2 separate regions of the Homo sapiens genome follow, and region 1 is linked to region 2. Evidence: promoter capture Hi-C in human tissues and cell types (Jung and others, 2019). All regions are on one chromosome and are shown on one strand. Each heading gives the region's core, a stretch centred on a gene start or on the middle of the fragment in contact. The rest is flanking DNA. Distances are from core to core; before and after follow the strand shown. Region 1 overlaps ARFRP1 (ARF related protein 1). Region 2 holds the start of ZBTB46 (zinc finger and BTB domain containing 46).

What was found. The method cuts DNA at HindIII sites, captures the fragments that hold promoters and counts their contacts. A contact is called where the count stands out against the background at its distance.
Region 1: a contact is called between a fragment that was not itself captured here and the fragment with the promoter of ZBTB46 in region 2, in 1 of the 25 tissues and cell types used here (IMR-90 fibroblasts).

What each region holds. Positions count from the first base shown.
Region 1 is chr20:63,699,629-63,704,226 of GRCh38, reverse strand. It overlaps ARFRP1 (ARF related protein 1), which reads left to right. Exons shown (of 8, transcript NM_001267547.3): 5 at 2,010-2,091; 6 at 2,327-2,397; 7 at 3,525-3,625; 8 at 3,697-4,598. The coding sequence ends at 3,784. Among named protein-coding and RNA genes, the nearest start is that of TNFRSF6B, 5.3 kb to the right of the region's middle. RefSeq lists enhancers at 4,586-4,598, 3,806-4,598. The HindIII fragment of the contact is 4,084 bases long and covers 1,269-4,598 here.
Region 2 is chr20:63,829,511-63,834,256 of GRCh38, reverse strand. It overlaps ZBTB46 (zinc finger and BTB domain containing 46), which reads left to right and starts at 2,993. Exons shown (of 5, transcript NM_001369741.1): 1 at 2,993-3,160. RefSeq lists a silencer at 2,836-2,975 and an enhancer at 4,558-4,746. The HindIII fragment of the contact is 9,346 bases long and covers 1,020-4,746 here.

The DNA of each region.
Region 1 (4,598 bases), core at 2,061-4,560, 130 kb after region 2:
CCCACCCTGGTTTCCTGTATCCTGCATCCTTGTGCAGAGCCAGCACCACAGAAAGGGGCGTCATTGCGAATTGGCCTCGTCCTGGGGCTGGACCCTGGGTTGGTGTCCACATGTGTGGCATGTGCCAGGACCTCAGCTCCTGGGTTCTTTGCTGTAACACTAGTCTCTCAGGCTGGCTGGCACTTTGCAGTTGGGGAGCTCCCATTGCTGCTGGGGAGAAAAACTCAGACCCACAGTCCCTCTGACTGCTCCACTGGGGTCAGCTGGCCAGCCAGGAGCCACGCTTGGACACCTCCCTCTTCCCCCTCCTTGTGGGGCACCCCACAATGACCACTGCTGTGACGCCTCCACTGGGGCGTGGGGCTCTGGGTCCTGCCCGCACTCAGCCCTGAGGTGTCGCTCCCGTCCACTGCGGCCCTGCTGGGCTGTGCACCTTGTGCCTGGTAGGTGTGATGGGTGGCTCTGGCCACGTGGTCCCATGGTCCAGGACCCGGTTGCACATGAACCTTCTGCCACCCTGCTCAGAAGCCCCAGGAGCCACGTGGAGATTCTCTCACTGGGCTTGCTGCAGCCTCCACAGAGCCGCCCCTCCTGCCACAGAGGTCTCCACCTTAGGGTCCGCCTGCTCCCTTGTGTCAGCAGCAGACAGCCGGCACACTGCAGGGTCCCTTGAGGGGTTGGCGGCCTCTGTGTGGGACCTGTCTGTAGGCCAGAGAAGTTCCTGGGGGTGGGGGGGCCTCGCTACCTGCAGAACCCTGGAGGGCGCCTGGCCTTGGGCCTCCTCTCCACTGTGGGAAGTTCCTGGGGGTGGGGGGGCCTGGCCTTGGGCCTCCTCCTTTCCACTGTGGGAAGTGCAGGTGCACAGGCTTCTCTCCTCTGTGGGAAGTGCAGGTGCACAAGCTTGTCTGGCACTGGGATGGGGTTGTCTGGTACTCCCTGCTCAGACACCCTAAGGATTTCGGAGAGTTGGGCTGTGCCTCCTGGCTTCTCATGCTCTCGGGTGTGTGTGTCTTAACACACTGACCACCAGCTTGTCCTACCTGGTCAGCATCCAGTTCTAGGTCTCTGGGCACTCATGCCTGGACAGGAGAGCTGGCACAGCCTGGAGGCAAAGTGGCAAATGTGAGCTGTTGTCTGCTCCACGTGGACGCGGAGTTTGCTGTGTTTTTTTCTGATTGAGATAGAGGTGCACTCATCTGGTCCAGGGCTCAGCACTTGTACCTGAGGCTGCAGGGGCTGTGCCCTGTCTTGCCCAGGAGTGTTGCCAGCGAGCCCAGGACTGACCAGCCCAGGCTGCAGAGGTCTGAGCTCAGTGACTCTGGCCCTGTCCTGGCAGGGAAGGCTCGCTTCGTAGATGGCGCTGGTCAGTCTTATCCGCATGGCCACACTCCCTCCCTGTGCGAGGTGCTGGCACAGAGCCCCACAGGTGCACTCCCTCAACGGGCCAGGCTGTGGTCTAGGTTCCTCCAGCCCCCAAACCCTATCTTTTTTTTGAGACAGGGTCTCTCATTCTCACCCAGGCTGGAGTGCAGTGGTGTGATCAGAGCTCACTACAGCCTCAACCTCCCAGGCTCAAGCCATCCTCCCACCTCAGCCTCCCGAGTAGCTAGGACTGCAGGCGCACATTACCATAAGCTTTTGTACAGACGGAGTCTCACTGTGTTGCCCAGGTTGGCCGTGAAGTGGGCTCAGGTGATCCTCCTGCTTCTGCCTCCCAAAGTGTTGGGATAATAAGTGTGAGCCACCACGCCTGGCCCAATCCCTGTCTTTCACCTTTGGCCACCATCAGGCCAAAGGTTGCCGGCAGGTTCTCAGGAGCAGCGTCTGGGGACACCTCCACCAGATCTCCCCGCAACCCCAGAATGCATCCCAGAAGGGTCTTGCAGTTGGGGGCTGCCCTCTTGCCCCTTCCTCATGTGAGCCCCTCACTGTGGCCATGACACAGGCCTGGCTCTGCTGGCCCTTGGCAGGGTGGGGACTGAGCCCCAACTCCTGGTGCTTCCTCCCAGTATTATGCGGAGTGTCACGGCGTCATCTACGTCATTGACTCCACCGACGAGGAGAGGCTGGCTGAGTCCAAGCAGGCGTTTGGTGAGTGCGGCCTGGCTGCTCTGGGAGGGATGGATGGTGAGTGGGGGCAGGTCCAGCTTGGGCAGCTCTGTGCCTGGGGCAGGCTCAGTGTCTGGTCAGAAGTGCTCCTGCCTAGTGGGTGACGGGGGGGGGGGGGGCAGAGGGAGTGGCTGTCACAGTGTCCACGCCTGTGGGCCCCTGGGCAGTCAGAGGCAGGATGCTGGGTGTGAGGCGCTGCCTCTCCTGCCCTCCCCAGAGAAGGTGGTGACCAGCGAGGCGCTGTGCGGTGTCCCCGTCTTGGTGCTGGCCAACAAGCAGGATGTGGAGGTGAGCCCCACCCCTGCCTCCCGCAGCAGCTTCCCGAGTCCCCAGCCTCCCCCACAGCAAGGGGAGCAGGTGTGCACCCAGACACCCCAGGCCCAGTGACTGCCCAGGGGGTACAGAGCCATTCTCAAGGCCTGCCCTGCCCCCAGCAGCTTCCCAAGCCTGGTTCCTCTCCAGACCTGCTGCTGCCAGCCCTGGAGGTTCTCCCACCTCAGGGCAGGCGCCCAGAGGCCTCTTCCTGCTATGCAGGGCACCTCTCCCCAGGAGGGCGGCCGTGTCTCAGGAGTGTGTGGCCAAGCTGTGGGGACACCCAGGTGAAACTCAGAGCTCAAAGAAGTGATGCTGGGGCCCTGGTGGGAGTCAGCTCTGACCCTTACCTGTTCCTGCTACCCTTGGAGGTGGCATCTGTGCCAGCCCCACCCCCAGGGCAGCCCCTCAAGACCCCTCTGAGGTGCCACTGCCCCCGGGAGCACTGGCCACGCTGAGTTCTAGCTGTTCTCTTGGAGTGGCTTTGCACAGAAGCAGCCCGGCGTCCAGAGGGCCAGGTGAATCTTCACTTCCTGCCTTCTCTGGGGTGGCTCTGTTGCCCCCAGCCTGTAAGGCTGGCCTCCCCTACAATCTCAGCCGACAAGAGGGACATCTGGTACGGGGCAGGGGTCTCCCCTCGGAGGAAAAGGGGAGGGGAGGGCTGCTTTTTGAAGACTGGGCAGGTGGTTGTGAGCAGAAGCCACCATGACTGCAGACTGCCTCCATCACTGATGCAGGGCTCCCACCTCTCCATCATCCCCGGCTGTGTGGGCCCCTGGGACCTGCCTCCGCCACTGCCCAGGAGGCCTCAGTCCTCAGCGCCCCACCTCGGGGCTCAGGGTGTCCCCCAGGGAGGGGATGGGGGGTGGACTCCTTGGAGCCGTGTGGACGTCTAGTTTGTCTCAGGCACTACCAGCCATGTTCAGCCTCGGGCTGAGCACAGGGTCCTCACTGCTGTGGTCTCTGTGGGAGACACTGGGACCCTGGTGGAGCTCTGGCTGTTTCCCTGGGGTGAAGGGCATACGCCCTTCTGAGAGTCCCGGGCCCACAGGCAGGACAGGGCCAGACGTGGGGGCTGCTCCTCACGGCCTTACCTCCCCCAGACGTGCCTCTCAATCCCTGACATCAAGACGGCCTTCAGCGACTGCACCAGCAAGATCGGCAGGCGAGATTGCCTGACCCAGGCCTGCTCGGCCCTCACAGGGTGAGTGGGGGCTGCACCTGCGGGGGCTTTGGGGACCGAGACCCCCCGCCTCACACCCGCTGTCTTCACAGCAAAGGGGTGCGCGAGGGCATCGAGTGGATGGTGAAGTGTGTCGTGCGGAATGTGCACCGGCCGCCGCGGCAGAGGGACATCACGTAGGCGCAGCCGCGCTGCCGTCGGGACGGCTGGTCCCCTGGTGCTGGAGGAGTGGCCTCCTGTTGGCTCCCATGCTGCTGATCTGGGGGGTGGGTTTGCTTTGCTTTGGGGTTCTTCTATTTACTTTGTTTTCTCGAAGACAAACTTTCCTCTATGTCTGGAAAAGCGTAGGCATCCGGAGGCTTTGGAGGGGAGTCTGGCAGCCCGGCTGGCCCAGGCCCTGCAGCGGCAGCCTTTCCACAGGGCGCAGCGGCGGCCTTTCGAGGCCCTTTCTGGGGGGTCTGAGGGAGACCTGGTTGGGAATTGGGGCTCCAGTGCTCAGGCTGGCTTGGGCTGCATGAGGACAGCCCTGTGGGACCCTCGGGAGACCCCGTGGCTGTCTCCGCCCCATCGAGGAGGAGGCCCGTCAGCCATGGCTGCCATCTGGCTTCTGCCCTGTGACCCCGTGACCCCGTGACCCCGGAAGTGGTCTGGGGCTGATCTTGCCTTGAGGAAGACCCAGGCCATGTTCCCAAAGGCCAGCGGGGGCCCTGGATTGTGATGCAGCCTCGGGACAGGGCTGAGGCCTGCGGGGGAAGACCTATACCCCACGCCTGGGCCTGGCTTCACCTCACCCTAATCCCCCGGGAGGGAGCTGACTGATGCAAAAAGCTGAGGGGGCCTGCTGGGAGTGGCTGTTTTTATGCCCCAGCCCCGCAAGTTGGGGAGTGTTTGTGGGGGTCCAGAGCCCTCCCCCAGCCAGGAGAGAACCTCCCGGAGGGGTTCTCTGTGGGGCCCTGTGTCCCCTGCTCGGGAGTAAGGCTGGTCCTGGGGTCCT
Region 2 (4,746 bases), core at 1,744-4,243:
ATGCTGCTGAGGCCACACTTCACATTCTCTGTTCCCAGAGCTGCCTCCCAGCCGGCTGTCAGGCGGCAGATCCCTCCTTGCATCTGTGGCCCCCAGGCCTGGTGTGCGTCACCTGCACAAGTGTCCCGGGGCCCTAGGAAGAGGGGGCACCGCGGCCCAGCCTGGCATCCCCCCGTCTCATGTCTAATCCCAGCAGCAGCTCAGTAGATGCTGGGCTCCAACAAACCTGAGGTTCCTGGGCCACGGGGCCAGCATGCCCGTCGGAGCAGACACTCCACGTGGCTGTAGGAGTCCAACTACTCCACCCTCCTCGTCCTCCCAGTTCGGCTGAGAGGCTGCAGCTGCTGCTGCTGGTTTTTGTTTGTTTTTCTTTTAAATAGTAATGGGGTTTATCAGCTCTTGGAATAACGGTCTGTAGGACTTAATCAGGGCGCTGTCTCTGAGACCGGTCTTGGTTCTTCCTTTTTGACATACTGTCTTCGTCTCCAGGCTGCTTGACCTTCTGTTGGTTCTTGGAGCAGAAAAGTCAGGAGTCTCTGTCCCGTCACTGGCAGTGTTGCCGAGGGGGAAGCGGGGAGGAGTGGGGCTCCCAGGTGAGAGGGGGCCCAGAGCCTCATCCGCCCCGTTCATTCTAGAACTCAGCACGTTTCTTTTTTTTTCTTTTTTGAGACAGAGTCTTGCTCTGTCGCCCAGGCTGGAGTGCAGCGGCACGAACTTGGCTCACTGCAAGCTCCACCTCCCGGGTTGACGCCATTCTCCTGCCTCAGCCTCCCGAGTAGCTGGGACTACAGGCACCTGCCACCACGCCTGGCTAATTTTTTGTATTTTTAGTAGAGACGGGGTTTCACCGTGTTAGCCAGGATGGTCTCGATCTCCTGACCTCGTGATCCGCCTGCCTCGGCCTCCCAAAGTGCTGGGATTACAGGCGTGAGACACCGCGCCCGGCCCTCAGCAAGTTTCTACCAAGACAGGCAGCCCTAACCTGGCAGGTGGGGTTGGCCTGGGTCGTGGTGAGATCAAGGTTTGGTTCTTATGGGCAGGCCTCCTAAGCGATGACTGAGTGCCACTGTGTGTTCCGCCAGGCAGCTGCTGCTGCTCTCCATCCCTGCATGGACAACGGACATGGCAAACCATCAACACTGCTCTCCTTGGAGGCTGTCTAGGGAGGTCCAGACATCTTGGGAGAGACTGGGGTTCTCTTTTGCGCAAGAGAGCATGGGCAGGCTCTGCGGGAGGCCCTTGGGGCAGGCATCAGGGCTCTGGTCCTCCTTGCTTTGGCTCGGTGGGCCCGAGCTCTCCTGTCTCCCCAGGCCTCCTTTCCTCCGTGGGGTACAACTGGGCTCTGGGTGGGCAGGTGGGGGCTCCTGCAGGCAGTGCTGTTTTCTCCAAGGGGGATGCACGTGACCCGCCAGACCCTCCTGGAAGCCGCCTCTTCTCAGGGTGGTTGTGCTCAGCCCCCACTTCCCGAAGGTCGGTGAGGCTGGGGCTACAGTTTCAGACCAGAGCAGGCAGTGCCACCGAGAGGGTGCCGCGCGAGGTAGGCCGGCGACGGGGCTTCCTGGGCCGCAGTGCCATCCCGGCGACCTTGGCGAGGGGATGGGAACGGGGTGTCCGCACAGCCATTTCCAGGCGCCCGCGACGGCAGTAAGGGAGTGTCCCAGGCGTTGGTCCCGGCAGCCACACCTCGCTTCGCCTTTGCTCACTCATGGAGAGCCCTCAGCCGCCTCCCACTGCCGCTCCTGAATGCGCCTCACACATCCAGATTTGAAAGCACCCATAGGGCCGCCGCCTCCCACCTCCCGAGGAATCCGCTGCGCTGGGCCCGCAGGGAGGCAGGCTGGACGGCCCGGGCGCCTCCCCATTGGTTGGCCGGGCCGGGCTCGACTCCCTCGCGCGGCTGCCGGCCACAGGCTCACCTCCCTTCCCGCCGCGCCCGGGGAGAGGAAGCGAGGTGGCCTTTACCCCTGCGCAGGCCGGCCAGGAATGCGGGGCCGCGCTTCCCACTCTACCCGCCCGAGGGCTGAGGACGGCGGAGGCGAGAAGCGACGCGCAGAGTCCGGGCGCCGAGTGGTGGAGACGCGTCCCAGGCCGTTCGGATCGGGGCTGCACACGGGCTGGGGCGAGGCCCGGGCCGCTGGTTCCCGCCCCCTCCCGGAGCCATTCGTCCCCCGCAGACAACACGACGGGAGGGACCCACGCGCGGCCGCCGGTGCCCCTAGTCAGCCAAAAGCGAGCCCCACTGGCGGGCACCCCCACGAGGCCTGCGCCCGAGGTGCGCCGATCTCCGGGTGCGCCGAGGCCCCCGAGGGTAGGCGCGCGCGGTGCCCAGGCCCTTCCAGACCCCGCACCCCGGGCGGCCTTCCTTGGGGGCGCCTTTTCCGCACCGCGAGCGGCCCGCGTTGATGCCCGGCCGGGCTGGGGGAGTCGCCAAGTTTGCGAGACGCGCGCAGTGCAACCGCGCGTCAGGCGCGGGGACGGCCGGTGACCTGGGCACCCGCGCGCCCCCGAGGAACCTGCGCGTGGGCAGCGCCCGGTGCGCGGCCCGGGAAGGGAGCGGGTGCCCTCGCCGGGGTCGCCGCTCCCGTGGGGTGTTTCCAGGCTGCTCCGCGCTCGCGGGGCAAGGGCGCAGCGGGGGCCAGGGGGACCCCCGCGCCGCGCCGCCCCAGCCCCCCGCCAGCCCAGGGGAGGGGGCTTCCCACAATGCCCAGCGAGCTCCAGCCCGCACTTCCGCTGTCCGGCTGCCCGCGGGGGGGAGAACGGACCCCCGGCGCGGCCCCCTGCGACCCCGCGGCGCGGCGCCGGGAGCCGAGCGAGGGGCGGGGCCGGCGGCCGGGCCGGCGTGGGCGGGGCCCGGGGCGGTGGCCGCGGCCGGGGCGCGGCGCGGGCCAATCAGCGGCGGCCGGGCGCGCGCCGGGGGGCGGGGTCAGGGTCCGCGGGCGGGGCGCGCGCGCGCGGGCGGCGGGGGCCGCGGGGTTGGAGCGGGCGCGGGGGCGCGCGCCGGCCTGACGGACCGACGGACGGACGGACGGACCGAGCAGCCCCGGCGAGCGCGCAGCTCGGACCCGCCCGGACGCAGCGCCCTCCCGGCGGCGGCGGCGATCACCGGCGCCGGCCCGGCGGCCGCGGCGCCCGCCCTCGCCCGCGCCCCATGGGGTCACAGGTAAGCGGCGCCGGCTCATTGTCCGCGCGGCCGGGCGGGCGCATCGCGGCGGGGGCCGGGCCCGGAGCCGGGAGCCGGGAGCCGGGGCCGCTGCGAGCCCGGGCGCGCCCCCGCCGCCGGCCGCCCCGCCACGCCCCGCCCCGCGGGGGCGCCCTCCCGGGGGCCATCGGCGCTCCCAGCTGCGGCGCGGGCTCCGGGGGCGGCGGCGGAGACCCCGGCCCGGCCCCCGCGGGTGCCCCCCAGGCCGGCGGCGCGGGGCGGGGCGCGCGGGGGCGGCGCGGGTTCCCCGCGGGGCTGAGCGCGGAGGCGGCTGGGCTGCCCCGGCCCCTCGGCCCCCGGCACCTCCCGCCGCCGCCGCGCTCCCTCCCCGGCACCTCCGAGAGGGGAATTTTCCAGCTGGTAATTTCTGCTGCGTCAACGCCTGGCCCCGAGGCAGCCCGGGGGCGTCTTGGCGCCCCCCGCCCGCGCCCCCCGCCGGCACAGCCCAGCCGCACCCGGAGCCGCCCGCGCCGAGTTTGCCAAGAGTCGGAACTGCGGGAGGTGGGCGCGGGCGGGTCCCGGCGCCCTGAGGCCGGGGGGTCATTGTCTCCCCGGACGCCGGGCGCCGGCCTGGTCTCCATCTTAATCGCCGGCCGAACCGGGGCGCAGGGGCCTCGGGGCGGGGCGGCTCGGGGCGCGGAGGGCTCGGGGCGCGCGGGGCGGACGGGGCGCGCGGAGGAAGCGGGGTCCGCTGCGAGCCGCGTCTTTGTTTCTCTGTAAATAGACATGTCAGTTTCGCGGGGGAGCGCGAGCCGGTGTCTGACAACTCAATCCCTAAGGCAAACGGGGAATTCTCTGCGCCAGAGGGAGGGCTCCTGCTAGTTGGGGTTCCCCTGGCCCCGCTGACAGATTCACTGTTTGTAGGTTTAACGAAGCACACACAATAGGGCTGGACCGAGGAGCCAGGGTACAGACCAGATGGGGCGAAGAACGGATATTTTCTGACAGCGAAGAAATATAAACAAAAGAAAGTTTGAGATTCGCAGCGAATTTCCTCTCTCGCTTTCCGTGCTGCAATCTCAACGATGCATTTGGAGTGGATTACGGTGGCAAGATTGTGATCAGCATTGTTTAAAGAAATGCTAATTAGAAACGTGTTTAGCGCGCGGCCTGGGCGCAGACACCTGTGCGCCGAGAACTCACGGGCATTTTAATTGTATCGATTGTAGAATCTTTCATATTGGCTCTATTATCAGAGCTAACTTCCCGTTTGGGTAACAGACTGGATACATCTCTGCTGCTGGCACTCACGCTGCCTCTGCAAGGCACTATTTCACTCTACAAGAGTGGAAAATAGTTTGTTCATCAAAAGGAAATGTATAGAAGGGGTTTTTCACATGAATAATGAAGCAAGCGACAGTATTTATCAGAGTAGAACCTTTCTGCTCGGTGTGTTTTACGTGTTTCCAACTGGCACTTTTGGGCACCTCAGCCTGGTTACCACTGCAGAAAGGACTGAGGAGTGAGGGGAGTACTTGGGCACAAGTTACTGCAAATTTAGGTGGGAACTTACTGTGTCCCCTAAAAAGCTAGACATCTTCTCCGTA